Regions from separate parts of the Homo sapiens genome. Here all the other regions are linked to region 5. The links are contacts of gene promoters, found by promoter capture Hi-C in blood cells and fetal thymus (Javierre and others, 2016). All regions are on one chromosome and are shown on one strand. The core of a region is centred on a gene start or on the middle of the fragment in contact, and the rest is flanking DNA. Distances in the headings are between cores, read along the strand shown.

The links. The method cuts DNA at HindIII sites, captures the fragments that hold promoters and counts their contacts. A CHiCAGO score of 5 or more calls a contact.
Region 1: a fragment that was not itself captured here is called in contact with the fragment with the promoter of PRDM5 in region 5 in 5 of 17 cell types (erythroblasts, endothelial precursors, M2 macrophages and 2 more); the score reaches 9.5 in erythroblasts.
Region 2: a fragment that was not itself captured here is called in contact with the fragment with the promoter of PRDM5 in region 5 in 2 of 17 cell types (erythroblasts and endothelial precursors); the score reaches 7.1 in erythroblasts.
Region 3: a contact is called between a fragment that was not itself captured here and the fragment with the promoter of PRDM5 in region 5, in 1 of 17 cell types (erythroblasts). The highest score is 6.3, in erythroblasts.
Region 4: a fragment that was not itself captured here is called in contact with the fragment with the promoter of PRDM5 in region 5 in 2 of 17 cell types (M2 macrophages and monocytes); the score reaches 5.3 in M2 macrophages.
Region 6: a contact is called between a fragment that was not itself captured here and the fragment with the promoter of PRDM5 in region 5, in 1 of 17 cell types (erythroblasts). The highest score is 5.7, in erythroblasts.

Annotation. Positions count from the first base shown.
Region 1 is chr4:120,077,744-120,080,697 of GRCh38, forward strand. The region is part of intron 1 of MAD2L1-DT (MAD2L1 divergent transcript); the gene reads left to right. Among named protein-coding and RNA genes, the nearest start is that of MAD2L1-DT, 12 kb to the left of the region's middle. The HindIII fragment of the contact is 3,295 bases long and covers 1-2,954 here.
Region 2 is chr4:120,151,160-120,154,003 of GRCh38, forward strand. All of the region lies in intron 3 of MAD2L1-DT (MAD2L1 divergent transcript), which reads left to right. Among named protein-coding and RNA genes, the nearest start is that of MAD2L1-DT, 86 kb to the left of the region's middle. The HindIII fragment of the contact is 2,384 bases long and covers 268-2,651 here.
Region 3 is chr4:120,054,108-120,057,211 of GRCh38, forward strand. MAD2L1 (mitotic arrest deficient 2 like 1) reads right to left here. Exons shown (of 5, transcript NM_002358.4): 5 at 1,516-3,104. Among named protein-coding and RNA genes, the nearest start is that of MAD2L1, 11 kb to the right of the region's middle. The HindIII fragment of the contact is 1,190 bases long and covers 1,084-2,273 here.
Region 4 is chr4:120,133,406-120,136,394 of GRCh38, forward strand. All of the region lies in intron 2 of MAD2L1-DT (MAD2L1 divergent transcript), which reads left to right. Among named protein-coding and RNA genes, the nearest start is that of MAD2L1-DT, 68 kb to the left of the region's middle. The HindIII fragment of the contact is 2,947 bases long and covers 185-2,989 here.
Region 5 is chr4:120,921,125-120,924,021 of GRCh38, forward strand. PRDM5 (PR/SET domain 5) reads right to left here and starts at 1,602. Exons shown (of 16, transcript NM_018699.4): 1 at 1,392-1,602. The coding sequence starts at 1,484. It overlaps LOC105377399 (a long non-coding RNA gene), which reads left to right and starts at 1,812. Exons shown (of 2, transcript XR_001741804.2): 1 at 1,812-2,203. The HindIII fragment of the contact is 4,297 bases long and covers 1-2,897 here.
Region 6 is chr4:120,112,831-120,115,665 of GRCh38, forward strand. All of the region lies in intron 2 of MAD2L1-DT (MAD2L1 divergent transcript), which reads left to right. Among named protein-coding and RNA genes, the nearest start is that of MAD2L1-DT, 47 kb to the left of the region's middle. The HindIII fragment of the contact is 2,921 bases long and covers 1-2,711 here.

The sequences.
Region 1 (2,954 bases), core at 136-2,635, 840 kb before region 5:
AGAATCATTTTATTTAATCCCTCATTAGCTCAAGAGTTAGATACTACTATTACCTGAATTAAGTTACAGAAGGAAGTTGAATAATTTAGCTAAGGTCACCCAGCTAGGAGAACTGGAGTCAAATCCAAGCAATCTAGATGGTACCAGAATATGAATCCTGAAAGCATCAAAGATCTGACTATATTTTAGATAACTCTAATTTGAGGCAAACTATAGTGGGTCCTTAATATTCCTCCATCCTTGCTATGTAACTCCTGAGACCCATTCAGCAATGGAAACCAATGGAGCTGAATGGCTGGAAAGTCACAGAATTGGAACAAGGAAAATAATCCAAAAGTGGAAGAAAAGAGTCCAAAACTGGAGGAAAAGAAACAAGAGGTAGGATCCAGGGTGCAATACTGGCTCATCTGGCTAAGAGTGGATGGCCAAAAGGGGTACCCTGACTAGGGCTGCAAAAACAGGAATTTTTTAAAAATTTTGTGCTTAAAAGATCTTGTCAATTTTCTACTTAAAAGATCTTCAGTGAACTAAGAGGAGGCATTAAACAAATATTCTGGCCAAGGGATAGAATGGCATTTGAAATAGCCTACTCTTTGTCCTGCCAATTTTATTGATAGCTCAGACAAAAGGAAATGAGAATATGCAATACAGCAGGAATGTAAAAAGATGACAAATTTGAGAGACATTTTAAAAATGTGTTGAGATGTGTTTGGTTGTACTCTGAAGAACAGCCTGGGTTTTGGGGGATCATGGTGTGGAGCTGTTATACATGGAGATGATATAGATAAGTTTGTGGCATTCGATTCATTTTCCTTCAAGTGGTTTTAGGCCAGGCAAAAAAAAAAAATTTTTTTTGAGGTAATAGCTAATAAAATGACACATTGAGGAAGAAGAGGCAGTGAAGGAAACTCAGAAGAAATGGAAAAGTAGGAGGCAAATTGTGAGAGGAATGTCAGAACCTATTTAGTGAATTTGGATTAGGTAGAAAAATACTATTTTAGTAGTTTAGTAAATAATTCAGCACAAATAAGAATGACTGAGGAAGAGTCACAGATTTTGTACTTGAAAGATTTTTGGTGAACTAAGAGGAGACAATTTGGGTCACACGGTAGGGTATAAAAGTCTTTTACAAGGAGTTTGGAAGTAAGGCTAAGAAGATAGAAGTAAAAGGTTTGCAAGAGAAATGGAGAGTGGAGAAACCACATAAGCAATTGCTGGATCTTGGGAATTTTATGTTTAGGATATTTAGAGGAAAGAGAGCAAAAGAAATATAAATACTGAAGTTGAAAGTTGGAAAGGCCTAACTAATAGAGCCAGACACCTGAGGCCACAGAAAGCAATGGCATCAAGGACCCAAGTAGAGAATAAACAGAAGAGACAATTCCCTCTTAGAAATTGAAAACAAGGAAGAAGGGAGATGTGAGGATGCAGATAAATTCTCATTTTTTCTTGAAATGCAAGTAAAGAATAATCTTTAGCTTCTCAGTGGAGGAGGAGGTGAGATAGGGAAGTGGAGGAAGGGAAAGATAATGTCACATAAGTGAAAAGAGTTGGAAATTTTTTTTTTTTTTTTTTTTTGAGACAGGGTCTTGCTCTGTCGCCTAGGCTAGAGTGTAGTGGCGCGATCTCGGCTCTCTGCAAGCTCCGTCTCCCGAGTTCATGCCATTCTCCTGCCTCAGCCTCCCGAGTAGCTGGGACTAGAGGAGCCCGCCACCACGCCAGGCTAATTTTTTGTGTTTTTTAGTAGAGACGGGGTTTCACTGTGTTAGCCAGGATGGTCTCGATCTCCTGACCTCATGATCCGCCCGCCTTGGCCTCCCAAAGTGCTGGGATTACAGGGGTGAGCCACTGCGCCACGCCAAGAGTTGGAAAGATTTTTAAAGCAGCCATTATGAGGAGTGGGATGATAAGTCAATGAAGGAGAAATAAATGGATATTTGTTTTCCTAAATAGATATTTATTGAGTACTATTTATCTTACAGTGCGGTGCTGTATGGATGCAAGAGGAAAAATCTAGCTGGGAATCTAGTTGGGGAATTATTACACAAAAATAGCTGCACATAAGAAGGTACAGGATGAGAAACAATTGAATGTATGCAGTAATTGCCAAACAAATTCAAAGATAGCAAAAGAAATATTCTTGGAGGATGTAAAACTTGAAGAGTTATAAACATTTTCCACAGTGTTAGGTATAGTATATGTTATAAACATTTTGAAGAGTACTTAGAACTTGAAGAGTGCTTAGAACTTAGGCAGGCAAAGATGGGTGTCAATTAGAGGTTTAACGGAGATGATTAAAGTCCAGTCTGGACCATAAAGTAAAGGTGGGGATAAAAACCTTTATAGGTATAGATGTGTAGAGAGAGGACGTCACAGGCACAGAACTTAAAAATCTATGGGACAAAATATGGAAGCATCAAATTAGCTCACTTTTCCCCAGGACAGAGTCTTCATGTGATCAGATTACATCTGGGTTCTTTTTCTAGAGAGCCTTGTGTGACAGGCTAAAAGTTTGGACTTTTCTCAGGAGACGTTAGAGAGACACTAAAAGTTTTTATAGAATTATATTGGGGACAATATAAAGTTGTGTTTTAGTAACGTTACTGTAGCACAGGTGAAGTACAGATTGGAAAGCTATAGTGACAGTCCAGGTCGAGGCACTTAAGACTTCACTATTTTAATTATCTTCACTATTTAAATTCCAGTAAGTGCTATAATTGCCAGGAAAATCTCTGGTTTTGCCTCATTATCATAGATTCATTAATTTCACCTTTTTATCCATCTTCCATATCTGATGATTTTTAGTCCTTTAATTCTGCCAAATTTTCAGTCTTCTCTTTAGCTCCGGTCCTTTCTTGACCTCCTCTGTTTTTCTGTGCTCTTTTTTTGTATGAACTTTTCCTGTTTTCTGTTCTGAATTTATTCAGAGTAGACCTGCACACTTCAGCTTCACA
Region 2 (2,844 bases), core at 210-2,709, 770 kb before region 5:
CCGTGAACATTCAATATGCAACTTTATCTTTCCATCTTTGGCACCTGAGGAAACAAGTAGGTTTCCTTTCTTGGTGTGTGTAATGTGACATATACCTGCCATTGGACTACTGTCACAAAGTTACCAACTTAAGCCAATAGTTTTCCCTTCCTCTTTTGCAAAGTAGTTGATTATTAGGGAATTGATCTCAAATGACTTAAGTTTAAAGCTTTGTGGAATAGCTCTGTGTGTATGTGTGTGGTTGTGTGTGGTGTGTATTTGGGGAAAAGCTTATTAATATCTGTTATTGATCTCACTGTCAATTGATGTGCTTACTCAACTGAATTGTGGCAATCTTATTATCTATTGCTACATGTGCTGTGAGAATGCAAAGAGTTGCTTATCAAAGCCTGGCTTGTCATAAGATTAACTTTTTGTTTCTATTCAAATATAAAGATGGCAACAATGAAACACTCTTGTAAAATTATCTTTTTTTCTACTGTATTTCATTATGGGGAAAGAAAAATTTTAAAGGCATTTTTCAAAAGACTATAATATATTTCACCTAAATAAATCCCTCTCTTTAAAAACATGTATATATAGCATATGTATTTGTGTATAAGCAGAGGTTTTGTTTATGTCTGTGTATACAATATACTTACCTCTTTTCATTACAGGATAGAATGCAAATCTAGGAAATCCTCTCACAGGGGATTATCTTTTAACATATTTGAGTCAATTTTAGGAAAGCAAACCACAAAACTTGATTAAATTACCAACTTTATTTGATTTTGTTTATTTTTAATGAATTCTTTTGTGATTTTTGTCTGGATAACATTCAGGATACATACTGTACCTTTTGGAACATAACCATCAACAAATTGCAAACTTCTGCAACTTCGACATTTCTGAATTATCCTTTTGCTGAACTTTTTACAAAATCACCAAAAAAATCAAGAAAATATCATTTAGCAGGACCTTGTATAACTTTTATACTTATATTTGTTATAAGATCTGGGAACATTGATTTCCAGTATAAACCCAAGTATTTTTATTAAAAACTTGTGTTTCTGTTGTTAGTTTGAGAGCATCAAATATCCTATCTGTTTACTCACTGCTATTTTCTCAGTCCCTGGAATAAAACATATGAGTAAAAGAAGAATGAATTCTAGATTTTCCTAAAGTCATAGTAATAGATAGGCTTTTTAGTTGTCACAGATCTCATCATCATAAGTTATCAATTGGTGAATAGTATTTTATATTCAACATGTACCTTCATGTACAAGATGGCCCTTATAAAGAACATATAAGATATGAAAAAAGATACCCAGAATATGTCTATGTTACTGATGAAAAAGTTAATGTATGTCATAATCAGACCAGAATTCAGATCTTCTCAGCTGTGTTTCACTGTACTTTTCATTGTACTGCCTCGATTAGAGATCTGCTGTAGCTTATAATCATATGGACTACTAATCTTTATAATATCTTCAGAGAGAGATGTTGTTGTCTGTTTATGATCTATTCCAATGTATAATCATCTTCATTGATCAACAATTTAACTTATAATTTAACCAAGTTACTTGACCAAAATTTAAGTTCATTTCTTCATAAAAGAACTCATGCATTACAACAGAAAGTAAGTTATGCTTTGCACAGAATACTCTTTATATACTTACAGCATTTAAAAATAATTTCTTTTCCTTTTTTCAAATGTCTTTAATTTTTAAAAAATAAAACATACATTCTTTCTTGTAGTAATTTTTATTACATTAGAACTTGTGTTTCTCCTTTCTCCTCTGCCCTCAATATTTGTATCTCCACTTGATTTTACACACTTCTTTCAAATTCTGTTTCCCACTATTTCATATTCAGAATCTTAATTGACTTTCTACAGCGTGGACAAATACATCCTTAGCCTGGCATCCAAAACCTTAAGTGATACAATCCAACCTACAATTGCAACCTTATTTTTTTCAACTCATTTGTGTGACTTATACATAATTGAGCTTCAGCCTGAACTAGAATGGACTTAGGAAGTTGTGATTTTTAACATTTGAGATGTTGATATTGAATAAGTATGCCCAAAGGTCCATGGAGTCCAGTTATTATTGAGGCACTCTTTGTATTGTAAGAATTGCAAGCTGATGTGAATGTGAAAACAGCACTCAAATTGTAGTGTACCCACTATACACAAGTCTTGTGTAAGGGGTTTCAAATATTTTGGTCTCAGGAATCCTTTACACTTTTAAAAATTATTGAGCCCTCCAAGGAGCTTTTAGTTAAGCAGGTTATATCTATAGATATTTACTCTATTAGGCTGGTGCAGTGGCTCATGCCTGTAATCTCAGCACTTTGGGAGGCTGAGACAGAAGGATTGCTTGAGTCCAGGAGTTCGAGACCAGCCTGGACAACATGGCGAAACCCCATCTCTACTAAATATACAAAAATTAGCTGGGCATGGTGGAGTGTGCCTGTAGTCCCAGCTACTTGGCCTGAGGCAGGAGAATCCCTGGAACCTGGGAGATGGAGGCTACGGTGAGCAGAGATAGCGCCACTGCACTCCAGCTTAAGTGACAGAGCAAGACCCTATCTCACAAAAAAAAAAAAGCTCTTAATAAGAGAAAGTCAATTTAAAAATAAATAATAAATAAATTTTGAGGCCTCCAAGAAGCTTTTGTTTAAGTAGGTTGTATCTATAGGTATTTACTCTTTTAGAAATTAAAACCAAGAACTATTAATTTATTTAGAGTATTTTATATATTTAAAATAATAATTAATTTAAATCAACAGTAATAAACTCATTATATGTTAACATGAGTGCATAATTTCATCAAAATTAAACATTTTCTTAGTCTGGGCACA
Region 3 (3,104 bases), core at 429-2,928, 870 kb before region 5:
TGAGATTCACACGGTATTCTAGTCTTTTTGTAGCTAAGTCTGGAGCAGGAGAACCCTCCTCTGTCCCCTAGACTCTGAGAGGAAACAAGATATAATAAAAGGATTTGGTTCCTATTGGTTTGGGAATTGGGCCAGCACATGGATTCTGGATGTTTGCAGTTGGGCAAATTACTTAACCTTCCTGAATCTTAGTTCTTAAATCTATAAAGTGGGGATATCAATTCTCACAGGGTTGTTGCAAGGATTGAGATAATGCATGTAATGAATGAATTTGAAGACTGATCCCTTCCCTGCCCACAAACTGAGCTAAAGATGTTCTATAAAGGATTCAGACTCCCCAGTGTTTCTTCATGGTTTTGCTTTATGGGTCTCCTCTGGGGCGATGGAGGCATCAGCGGAGTTGTAGAATTTCCATTTTGGATGCAGTCCTTCTCTCCCCACCCTCTTCTCCCTCACAGCCCTAAATTGAGGTTTGGGGGCTGTTCCTTGCTCCAGAGGACTCCTCATTTGGAACTCAGACTTAATTTCCTTTATCTCATGGCTCTCCCCATGTCCCATCATCAGTTTCTAAGACCACAGCTTGTGGCCCAAGTCTTCCATTTCCCCACTAACCCCAACCTCCATTCATTTAGGAGTCAGCTGAACAGATGTAAAGCACTTCAGTGGTGCCTGGCATACAGTAGATGATCAATACCCATGAATTTCCTTTCCTAGACTTGGAGGCTGTAAGCTTTACAGCCTGTTTTTAAAGAGCTGTACTGACTCTTATGAGTGTGAACACAGTGATCCAATAACTGCATGTTAGATATGAAATATTTTGCACATCACAGACCCAATCTTTAAAACCACTAGCATCTGTACTTGGTCAGTGAGACTGCCATTTCAGAAAGAAATTCATATCCATGTCTAGGCATCCACTAGATATGTCCATATCTAGAAAGTTTTTTAAAGTGTTTGGACTCTTTCCCTTGCAAGGAAATGGACTATGGGTGGTCCAGCTTATATTTGGGATGCCTTTTTCCACACAGATAAAATTCCAAGAAAATAAGATTTTGATCTCATGTAAGTTCCTTTGTGCAAACAAGCTTGCATAGCAAAATGGTGCAGATAAATGTAGATGAAATGGGCTTTGTACAAGTAAATGTAACTATATTATGTTTCTCTGGTATAAAAATAGATCACATGGTGGAGGACAAAAATAGGTGACATGGTAACATAAACCAACTTGTGTAATCAGAGGGTCAACTCTGACATTTTTCACTCTAGGCCTTTTCTAATAGTCTTGTTGCTAGGGCTACAATGTTTTTGCCAGATTGGAACAGAATTGTCAACTCTAATGAAGATTAAGTAGCTTGCCCAACTACGTTTGTTTTTTTTTTTTTTTTTAGCCTCAGTGAATACTGCTGGCTTTAAAAGTCATAATTATGAAGAATGGAAATATCTCTAAAAGATCTATTTTTAAAAATATATAACTAATAAAATTTAAAATTGAGTAGACAGTTTCCATTTCACAGCTATTCCAATATAAACTTTTATCAGTCACATTGAACAAAATAACTAGAAATATTTCATACATTTAAAAAAAGAATAAGAAATTATTTACAAGTTAAGCCGCAAACAATTCACCAAAAACTGAGTAATTAAGGTTACTTAACAAACAATTCTTCTGATTAGTTGGAAAATTGTTTCATTACTGTTCACAAATTCATACCTGATTTACTCTGTAGACAATATAGATTAGGCATAGGATAAAATCCTCTGTATTTGGTTCCTCCCAATCATTGGTCAAAGTCATCTGACAACAGACTATCTGAGGAAAGTGTAAATACAAAGTCACCCAATAAAACATGAATAAGTTTTGCAAAGCACAGTAAAGGAAAACCAGTTTGTTCTGAACACTTTATTGCTAAAAGGATGTAAAGGGTAAGAGGAAAAAGGTGACGAAACACTCCTTTTGATATGCTTGTTGGGGAGTCAGGATGAACTTCCTTGGCTAGGGATAGAAGGAAGAGATCACCTAAACTTCAAAAACCACAATACAATTTGCATACTTCCTTGGCCAGGGATAGGAGAGACCACTAAACTTCAAAAACCACGACACAATTTGCATGCCCATTGACCCCCAGTTTTACTTGTGCACAAAAGCATGAGAATTAAATAAAAATTCATGTGAAGTGACTAGTAAATAATAAATGCTAAGTGTTTATTCCCCTAATGTATTTATATATTTGTTGCCAGGAATTCCAATGCTGAGTAACCTTGCTTTTCCAATAAGCTTACAGCCTTTAGAACCAAAAGAAAGTCATCTTAATTTGAATATTACAGCATTAGTGACATCTGGTGGAAAATATAAGAGTTACAAAGTAGCATTACATAGCTATTCTGATCTTTCATGTAAATTTTAGATAAATTTTACATACTAAATGAAAACAAGATGAAGAAATGGTCTATGAAGTTATCTACCTTATTGTGCTAATAATCTTTGAATCTATATGCTAAAATATATAGGAAGTCAGTATAATTAGCATTATACTAATAAAAACATTTTTCAGCATGCATGTCTATATAGTGAAAAAATGATTAAAAATAGGCATGGGCTCTTTATCCTATTGTGAGTCTCATAAAAAGGGTCTCTTTTTTAAAGGAGAGCCCATACCTCTCTTTTTATGGCATCACATGCCAAAGAACCTCCCTTAACAAGTTTTCAGATCAAATTGTGAACTGTGGGGTGTGTTAGGAAGTATGTCAAGAAAATAGCTGGTTGTGCTTCAGAGAATATGGAATTTAGGTATATTTGGGAGAGACATTCTGTTTGAGATACTATGGATGGAGGCAACAAACGATGTTTTACAAGTGAGCTTTAAATATTACGGTATCAAATGCTCTGAACTAGGGAGGGGTTCAAGTATTTGTGACCAAAAGAGCAAACTGTGATCTGTTACAGGACTGGTAAGCTACAACCCTGGGGCCGAAGCAAACAGCCATGTTTTTTTCTTATTGGAACACACTCACGCTCATTCATTTATGTATTGTCTATAGCTGCTTTCAGCCTCGAGTAGGTGCAAGAGACCATATGCCTTCAAAAGCAGAACTATTTACTACCT
Region 4 (2,989 bases), core at 408-2,907, 790 kb before region 5:
GTTTATTTCTTAGGCCACTGAGATTTTGGATTAACTGTTATGCAGCAAAACTGACTGATACAGCACTTAAGAAATTAGGGATTTTTCAGGATTGATGTGTTTAGCCTCATGAATTCAATCTTGATTTATAAACCTAAAGCACTTTTAAGAGTACCGATATAGACATGCATTGCTTCTTTTTAGAAGCTTGCATATTCTCTTATCTTCATGTTTTTAAATATAAAATTTAATTTGTACCAAATCAATGGAAATTTAGATGCATTTTTGTTTCCTTAAAAGTCCTATAAATGTTGATAATTTTGACATCATGCTGTTTTGGGTTTCATAATTGTATGATAGAAAGTATTTGGGGAGGAAAAATAATTTATTTTCCCTGAGTGTTCTGTAGGTGGAAACAGACCATTTAGATAATATTAATATATAAGACTTATCAGGTGCTCATAATGTCAACTATTGTGCTGCATGCTGCACATTTATTATCTTATTTATTACTGAAAACTGCTCCATGACAAAAAAGTTCTGTTGTTATTTCCCTAATGAAACTCAGAGAAATTGGTAATTTTTTTCAAGATCACACAGCTATTAAGGTGGTAGAGCTAGGATCTGAATCTAGAACTCAGACCCTTAACCCATACTGCCTCATTATTTTGGTTGATATATGAATGCTTTTAGGTGCCAATTACTGTGTAAGTTGAATATTTCTGAGGCCGTAGCTGCTTTGGAAAGCACAATGTCTGTCTTCATTCATAATAAGAAGATTTAATAGTGTTATTCTAGTTTTTTGGGTTATGAAGAGAATATATATGAACAAAATATATCTCTAAATGCATATGGTCTGTGACAGAAGAATATATACATGTCTGTCAATAAAATAAAATATATATTTAGCAATTTCTAGGCCTGATCATAATTATTTGTGTAGTTTCTAGATTCAACGAAATGATATAATCAATGTAATGTAACCAGACTGACTCTCTCTGTTACATTTTCAGGAATTTTAGAACATAGCGAAATGATGATTAGTGATTCAATTTATTTTCTAGAAGAAATAGATATGCCTCCTCTGTGACAGAAATTATATATGATCTTCCACTCTTGTATCAAGCCCATGCCCTCAAAAGTGCTCCAAGCATTGTTACTTTCCTGGATATCATGTTATACTATGAAAGTGTTCAGTGGGAAGTTAAGGATTCCACATTTTTTAAAAAATTTCTTTTATTGGAGAGTCATCAGGGCCTTCCATATACAATGTACATTAGTTTTTCAAAAGGAGTATAGATATGTTTTATTTCTCAGATTTATTTGAAGTGGACTGAGTCATAGATCAAAATTGGAAAACATCGATTTAGAATGAGGAAGGATTAAATTTATCCAGAAAAAAGCAGGAATAAACACACCATATTAAAAGGTGGGTTTATAATTTATTACAGGTGGGCCTATCTACATGTGTGTATATAGAAAATTTTATGTTAATTTAAAGCAACACTTATAGATGAATTAACAATTAGCAAATAATAAAGCTAGTAATAGAGGAAATATATGAGAACATTTAAGTCATGTTGCAGGGAGATTTTAACAGTTAAAAGTATCTTCCTGTTTCATAGACACGCAGACTTATAAACCAGACATAAATATCTACTTAAGACAGTTCAGTCCTGTTTAGTATAAGTCATGATTATGTGATTTTAGGTCATACAAAGACTCAGAAAGAAAAATACCTTAATTGTACTAGCGAATAATAGTGACAGCCTATAATGATGAAACATTGTTTCTAAGGGTAAAAATACAATTTTATGGTTACAATGGCTGTCCTCAATACATTGGTTGACATTAAATGTCAGAGTATCTAAAACTGTTCATGTCTCCAGGAGCCAGTCCTTACTGAGTTATAGTGAGAGGTATAAGAATTCCATTTGACAGAATGTCACTGATGAAATCGATCTAGAATCTTTACAAACTGCTGCTATTTTTTCTTTGCTTCCTTCAAAATTTCTGGACTTTCTACTCAGTAGATACATCCGGAAAACGATGGGACGAAATTAATGTGGGATACAGTAATACAGTGGGTAGTCAATGAGAAATAAATAAAATATTTGGGGTCTGCAAAGAAAAGAAATGACAAAAAGAAAAATAAGACCTTGTTTTATTCAGGGATGTGACACTATCAGTGTAATAGGCAGACATTTTAAATACTATAAATGACCTAAAGTTGTTATATAATTATGGATAATTCATTAATTTGGAGGAACATATATCATGTTTTTCAGTGATTCATAGAAGAAAACATTTCCATGGTCACAAAAATCTATTTCTCAAAGAAAATATATACAGATTTCAATGGCTCAGTAAAAAGACATTCATATCCCAAGGCAGGATTTAGTGAAATTTTTACTGCTATGTGTTGAATGAAGATCTCTGTAATATTTGTCTGTGTTCAGGCTTATCAGAGGTTAAATGCTGAAGGTGCTAATGCCAAAAAAGTTATCACTTATCTGTTGTCATTTGAAGGGAAATACTTAGAGTTTCAAGTATTATTTTCTGGGAATTTCAGGATTTTCTTGGAAATCTGGCTTTTTAGAATTATAGATATGAAAAATTTGTGTGGTGGTAATTTGATCATGAGATCAACAGGAAATGACATAAAAACATTTCTAAAAGTCTTACATAACTTTGATTCATCTGGTATAAAGGTTAAATTATTTTTTGGATCTTAGAAAAAGAAAATAATTATGATTACCTTTGGCATTTATTTCAATCAACATAAAGCATTTACATTATATGACATGCTTAATTAAAAAAAACAAAAAAGTTTACATTATCCAGAAACTTTAATTTCTATTACAATTTATTTTTCGTGAAAACACTTTCTTGTTTCTTGTAGGAAAATATATTTTCTGGGATTGGAGTCACTATTTTGAGCCTTTCACAGATGTGGTTGTTTCCTACCACTAGTACACCTTCTTATAATAAACAGCCACAAAAGGCTAGA
Region 5 (2,897 bases), core at 352-2,851:
TTTTTAAAGTAATTAAATTTAAGCCAGAAACCTTTAAGGAAGGTCTGTTTGAGAATTTTTCACATCTTTTAAGAATGAATTAAAAGGAGAATTTCAACTCTGTACAGACGTCATTTGGTGATGGTTGTATTTGGCCTTCAAAAAATGTTGATTTTAACATTTGGCCATTTGGCAACTATTCAATACACCTCTAATTCAGATAAATTATTTATTCCTGTTTTTAACATTTGAACATTCTCGCCAACTCCCACTTGAAAAAATAAATAAGTGGTTTATTTTCTCCAATTTTGCCCTGAAGGATGACTGGAGATCATGTTGTCAGTGGAGCCCTTTTTGGGGATTACTAGCACTTTCTACTACTCTTCACCAGCTCTTTAGGTCAGAGGCAAAGGGGAGAGGGTTATATGCAGATGAAAGGCACCCTAGTGTCTCTACTGCATCCTCTGAACCTCTTGTTAACATACCTTACCTGAACAAGCCTGTTCTTGCCCAAACCTCCATCTTACAAAATATCTACTAAGAAAAGGGGGCGAGGACGGCTAGGACGACTCTAACAAGTTATAATATTATAAGATCAAATCCAAAGAGCTGGACTTTTCCTGTGGCCTCTCTTCCTAGGCCTTTGCTTTCAACATCCAACACTTTCAGGCCCTTCCTGTACGAACTGAGCAATGTGCTTCCTCTCATCACATGCCTGTAACTTTCTGGCTGGAGAGATCGAACCGATGTTGGAGACAAATTAAAAAAAAAAAGAGCGGAGAAAAAAGGTATAGACACTCAAAGATCATCTGGTTGGCACCTCCCTGAAGGCACATATAATACATTCCAGAAGGAGGGAAGGAAATCCTGGGCGTATGAATGAGATTCTACGGCCTGCGTGGAGCGGCGCTCTGGGCTGCTCCTCCCATCCCCGCATGGAAAGTTAGGCGTTTCTAGCCACATTAATTCATCCTAAAGGAAAAGAGGCGACAGCGGAGCAGCGTGCGCGCGGGGGAAAACACCCGCCCACGCGTGCCTTCGCCAACGCAAAGACGCAGCTCACACCCGTAACCGAGGAAGAGGGAGGCTCCCGCCGCGCTCACTTCCTGCGGGAGAGAGGAAAGACATCTTGCGGCAGGGAGGCCGGTGGCAGTTCCGCCCCTGGACCGGCCGGCAGCGGAGCGCACCCCGCCGCCACCTACGTGGCGCTGCCTGCTCGGGTGGCGCAGCGAGTAAAGGCCACCCCCGCCGTGCCCCGCGGTCCCCGGCCTTCCCACGGACGCCTGGCCCGGCCCGGGCGAGGGGCGACCGGGGTGAAGCCCGCCGCGCCCCGGGCCCTGCGGCAGGGCGACTCCGGGAGGCACAGGGCGCGCGAGGTGCAGGGGCGCGCAGGCCGCCGCCGGGTCACCCACCTTTCGCACTCTGCGGGCCGTGTAGAGCCCCATGCCGTCCTGAACCCGGGAGGACTTCAGGGAGAACCTGTCCGGCACGTACATGCCCAGCATTTTCCCGGGCGCGGCGGCCGCCGCCTCTCTCAACACCGGCGCTTAGCGCCCGGCAGGCGGCACATCGAAATTTGGGGTGCCAGGGTAGAGGGGAGAAACCGGCAGGGAAGGAGGAAATGGAGTTTTCCTCCCAGAATCCCCACCTCCCTGCCGATTCCAGGATCCCCCGCGGCTCAGCCCCTCCTCGTCCCGGGTCGGGCTCGGCCCGGATCCGTTCCTGCCATTCCTGCTGCGGGGGCGCGGGGGGCGCGGGCCTGGGCGCTGCGGGCGCCGGGACGCCGCTCGCTGATTGGCCCGAAGTTGGCGGCTCTGACCCGCGCCCGGGCGCGAAGCCCGGAGCAGGGCTGACCCCAGGGCCTCAAACCCGGAGGCCCGCGAGCTGCGCGGGCCGTCAGCACCCCTAGCCCCGGCGCGGCGGCGTGCGTTCCCGCCTTTGTCCAGCTCTGGGTTTTCAAACCTTGCCCCGCTGAACCATTACTCCCTGTAGGGGAGTCTCGCTTGCTTCTCTTCAGATGCAAAACGAAATGGACCTTCACACAGCTGGGGCATCCTCCAAAACAACTTTATCAAGTTCCTGACTCTGAAAGCCAGCTTATTGCCGACTACTGAGAACGAACCCTGCGGTCTAGGAAATTTCCGTGCTTCTCACATTTGAGTTATGCGTCTTTGCTTTTTTTCACGTTTGTTGCAGAGGCTAGAACTTAATAAGGGATCGCAAAGTATGTTGATTAACGTACGGAAAAATATGTTGCAAACAATTTAATGTTTTAAGCACTAGAAACTAGATATTTTATGGTAACATAACCTCTGGGAAGTTCTTATACTTCTCAAGGTACAATATTCCTGAGACCTCCCTTGCTTGATAATCATTAGACGTATTACGGATTTTCAGACATACGGAAGTGGATTTGTGGGAGACAGGAGGGGACACCCAAACAATAGCATCTGGTGTCACAACAATGCAATAAAGTCACAAGTCTTGTTTTAGTGTTTTTAATAAGCTGTTAGGCTGTGCAGTGTGCCCAGGACCTTTAAAAGCCTGTTTCATCCTTCAAAGTGATCCTGGGGTCATCTACTCATTTCTCTTGATATTTATGGTAATTTTCTACTCTAGGGTCTTTTCTCGGAAACCATTTGATGTTCTTAATTGATGTTCTCATAAACCATTAAAAGCACACACAAAAGTTTGACAAAATTACAGACTACACACACACACCATGGAAACGATTCCTGTTTCTGCAGGAAACCCTTGGAACATAGTTCCTAAGCAGATTTTTTTTTTTTTTTTTTTTTGACAGGGTCTAGCTATGTCTCCCAGGTTGATCTTGAACTCCTGGGCTTAAGGGATCCTCCGGCGGCGTTGGCCTCCTGAAGTGCTGGGATTACACACTTGAGCTACCACACCCGGCCCCT
Region 6 (2,835 bases), core at 1-2,500, 810 kb before region 5:
ATGAAATTTCTAGAATTTAATATTTCAGTTTTGTTTTCTTTGGGATAAAGGAGCAGGATGTTATTCTACTCATATGGTCTCAGTGGATTGTATAGAGGGATTATTGTATAGAACTATGTTTCTGACATCTTGTGGAGGGGGCTTTCTTTGTCCATGTTGACCTCTTTGTCTCATGAGGCATATTGTTGTAACTGAATTGTTGGGTCTAATTCATACCAGGAAATACATGTCTTATGTGGCCACTGTGTGTTGCTGCAGTGTGTGAGCCGAGAAAGCTGTTGGGCTGTAAGTTTTCCTTTAGAATGTTTGCAGAACCCTCAGGTACTATTGAAAGTGAAGGATAAGACTGATCTCAGGAAAACAAAGGTTTTATTACACTTTCTCAAGTAATGAGGCTATCTACAGAAAATAAAAAAACAAAGCAGTAAAAGTCATACATGTGGTGCCATGTGCCAACAAGATAAATGGCTGACCAAATATAAAAAAGTCCCCAACGGGTTGCTGCTAGCCTAAGGTTATCTCCTCATGCTGCTGTGGATCTTTCAGAGGAAAAATCAAACACCTGCGTCACATCAAACAGGTATATGCACCTGAGGTTTGTGCATTTCCCCTATTAACCCGGCCTCTATTTTCAAATAAGTACAGTAGGCTGTAAAGGTTGCAAATTAAACACTGGCTTGCAGCAGATGAAGTGTGAGACGCTTGACTAAGCTACCACATTGTCATCATTATCCTCACCTTATTTTGGACCTAAAAATTAAAGGCAACAGTGGTTAAATATCACTAGAGATATTGCAATGTTATACTCATATAATAGCAATTTTGTGAATAAATTTTTTTTTTTATTTTTCACCTGAATTTATGAATATCTAAGGTTTGATACTAAAGCAGATTCTCTCAAGTTCTTGAATGTTCTTATTGGGTTAAAAAGTCTGGACAGACCTAAGATAAAATATCACGCCACTATGACAGTCTACTACATCTGTGTTCTTGTGAAGCAGCAAACTGGTGAAATTGTCAGGGATGGAGCTAAAGAAGGTCAGTAGAGTGACCACAATTGACAACACTGAATCCAAAAGAATACATGTCCAGCTTCATTTTCTTGGTATTTCTACCCTGGGATCAGAGCAACTGTGCTATAGCATTGGCAACATTCAGAGCACTGTCCCTTTTCGTTGGACTCACAAGAAATGTGTTGGACCTGAGCCTTTTGGACTCAGGAGGGAAACTTGAGTCCATACCTAAGGTGTAAACAACTGTTACACTCCATTTCAAGAAATTTTATAGGAATTATTTTATAGTAGCAGGATACTCTGAGAATAATCCCAATATTTATAAAAACTTAATGGCTAAAAAGTAGACTCAAACTTCCATTTTAAAGGTTTAAAATTTTTTCCTAAAACTTAAAAGTAGGCAGTGAAATTTGGTTGTATCTTTGGAGAACTCTTTCACCACATAAAGTATTATTTTAAAACTCCCCGTAAGGGGCCTTCATCGCCTGCAAAAAAAACAAAAAACAAAAACAAAAACAAAAAAAACTCCAAAATCATTTTTCTGGCTGAGAAATTAAATTTTCTGTTTAATAAAATAAGTTGGGTGTCATTTTAGTAACATTGCTCCTATAAAGTTATTTTTTATTTTTTTATTTCTAAGTCTGAATTGGATTTGCTTGAAGACTTCCCAAATCAAAATTGAAGGCACTGCAGATTAAAAAGGATTAATTTTTTGGGAACATGTACATTATTTCACTATAAGTGTTTGCACTTATAAAACTGTAAGACTAGACCAAACTAGGAGGGAAATAAATATGTGAATTTCTCTTTATTTTATACTAGAAATAAGACTGAAAATTGAATGGATTTGATTAGGCTTGGCACAGTGAAATCTGGGCTGAACTGCTGGTATTCCACTACTAAGGTTATGATAGATTAGATAAACCAGATTTGGGGAATTTATTTAAGCTGCTTAAACACACTTGGCATTTGGTCAACCATCCTATCACTGGGCAGTGAATAAGATGTGAAATGTGAGAAATAGGATGATTTCCTTTCTGGAGTCCTAAAGAGTTAGTAGGAGCCCAGACTGTAGGCAGAATTAAATGAACAAACAGGATTGCCTTCTGTAGAAGATGAGATGCTCTTGATACATTGAGGCAAATCAGAACTTAGTGGGTGTTCAGCTACTAGGGAAGCTCCTGTGAGAGGTCCCAAGTGACAACAGAGGAATGTCTGGAACCAGAGGTGAGAAGCTATAGCCAAGACATATTTGTTGGACAGTGTAATCCTTCCCTGGGAATTCTTAAAAACACAAAGGTTAAGAAATCTTAGTAGATGTGGACTTCCTATAACACACAGAATGGGATCTCACACTAAGATAATTGGACTTTTGTTAAAAAAAATTAATCAATGATAATTAAAATAAATGTTAACCATAGCAATTTAGAAAAGAAAGAGATTTATGGGACTTACAACAACACATATGGACTTAAATCACACATATGGCTTGCAAAGCAAAAAATTACTTAAGAGATGTGGAATAAAATTTCAAAAATTCATCATATCAACTTATTGCTGAAAATGCAAGAATTTTCTTATCTGTTTTACTGGCATAAATTTGAGAAGAATAATTTTTCATAACCATATAATGAATGTCATGTGTGAGATTATAGATTATAAACTAAAAATTATTAGGTTTTCATATTATTTTCTCAAAGCTTTCATATTTTTCTTTTATGTACATAATTGAACAATAAAGTAGTAGCAAAAATAGACTGCCTCAGAATTATGTATGTAACATATTTGTAAATAAAAATGTTGTCTCACAGTTAGCTTGCTT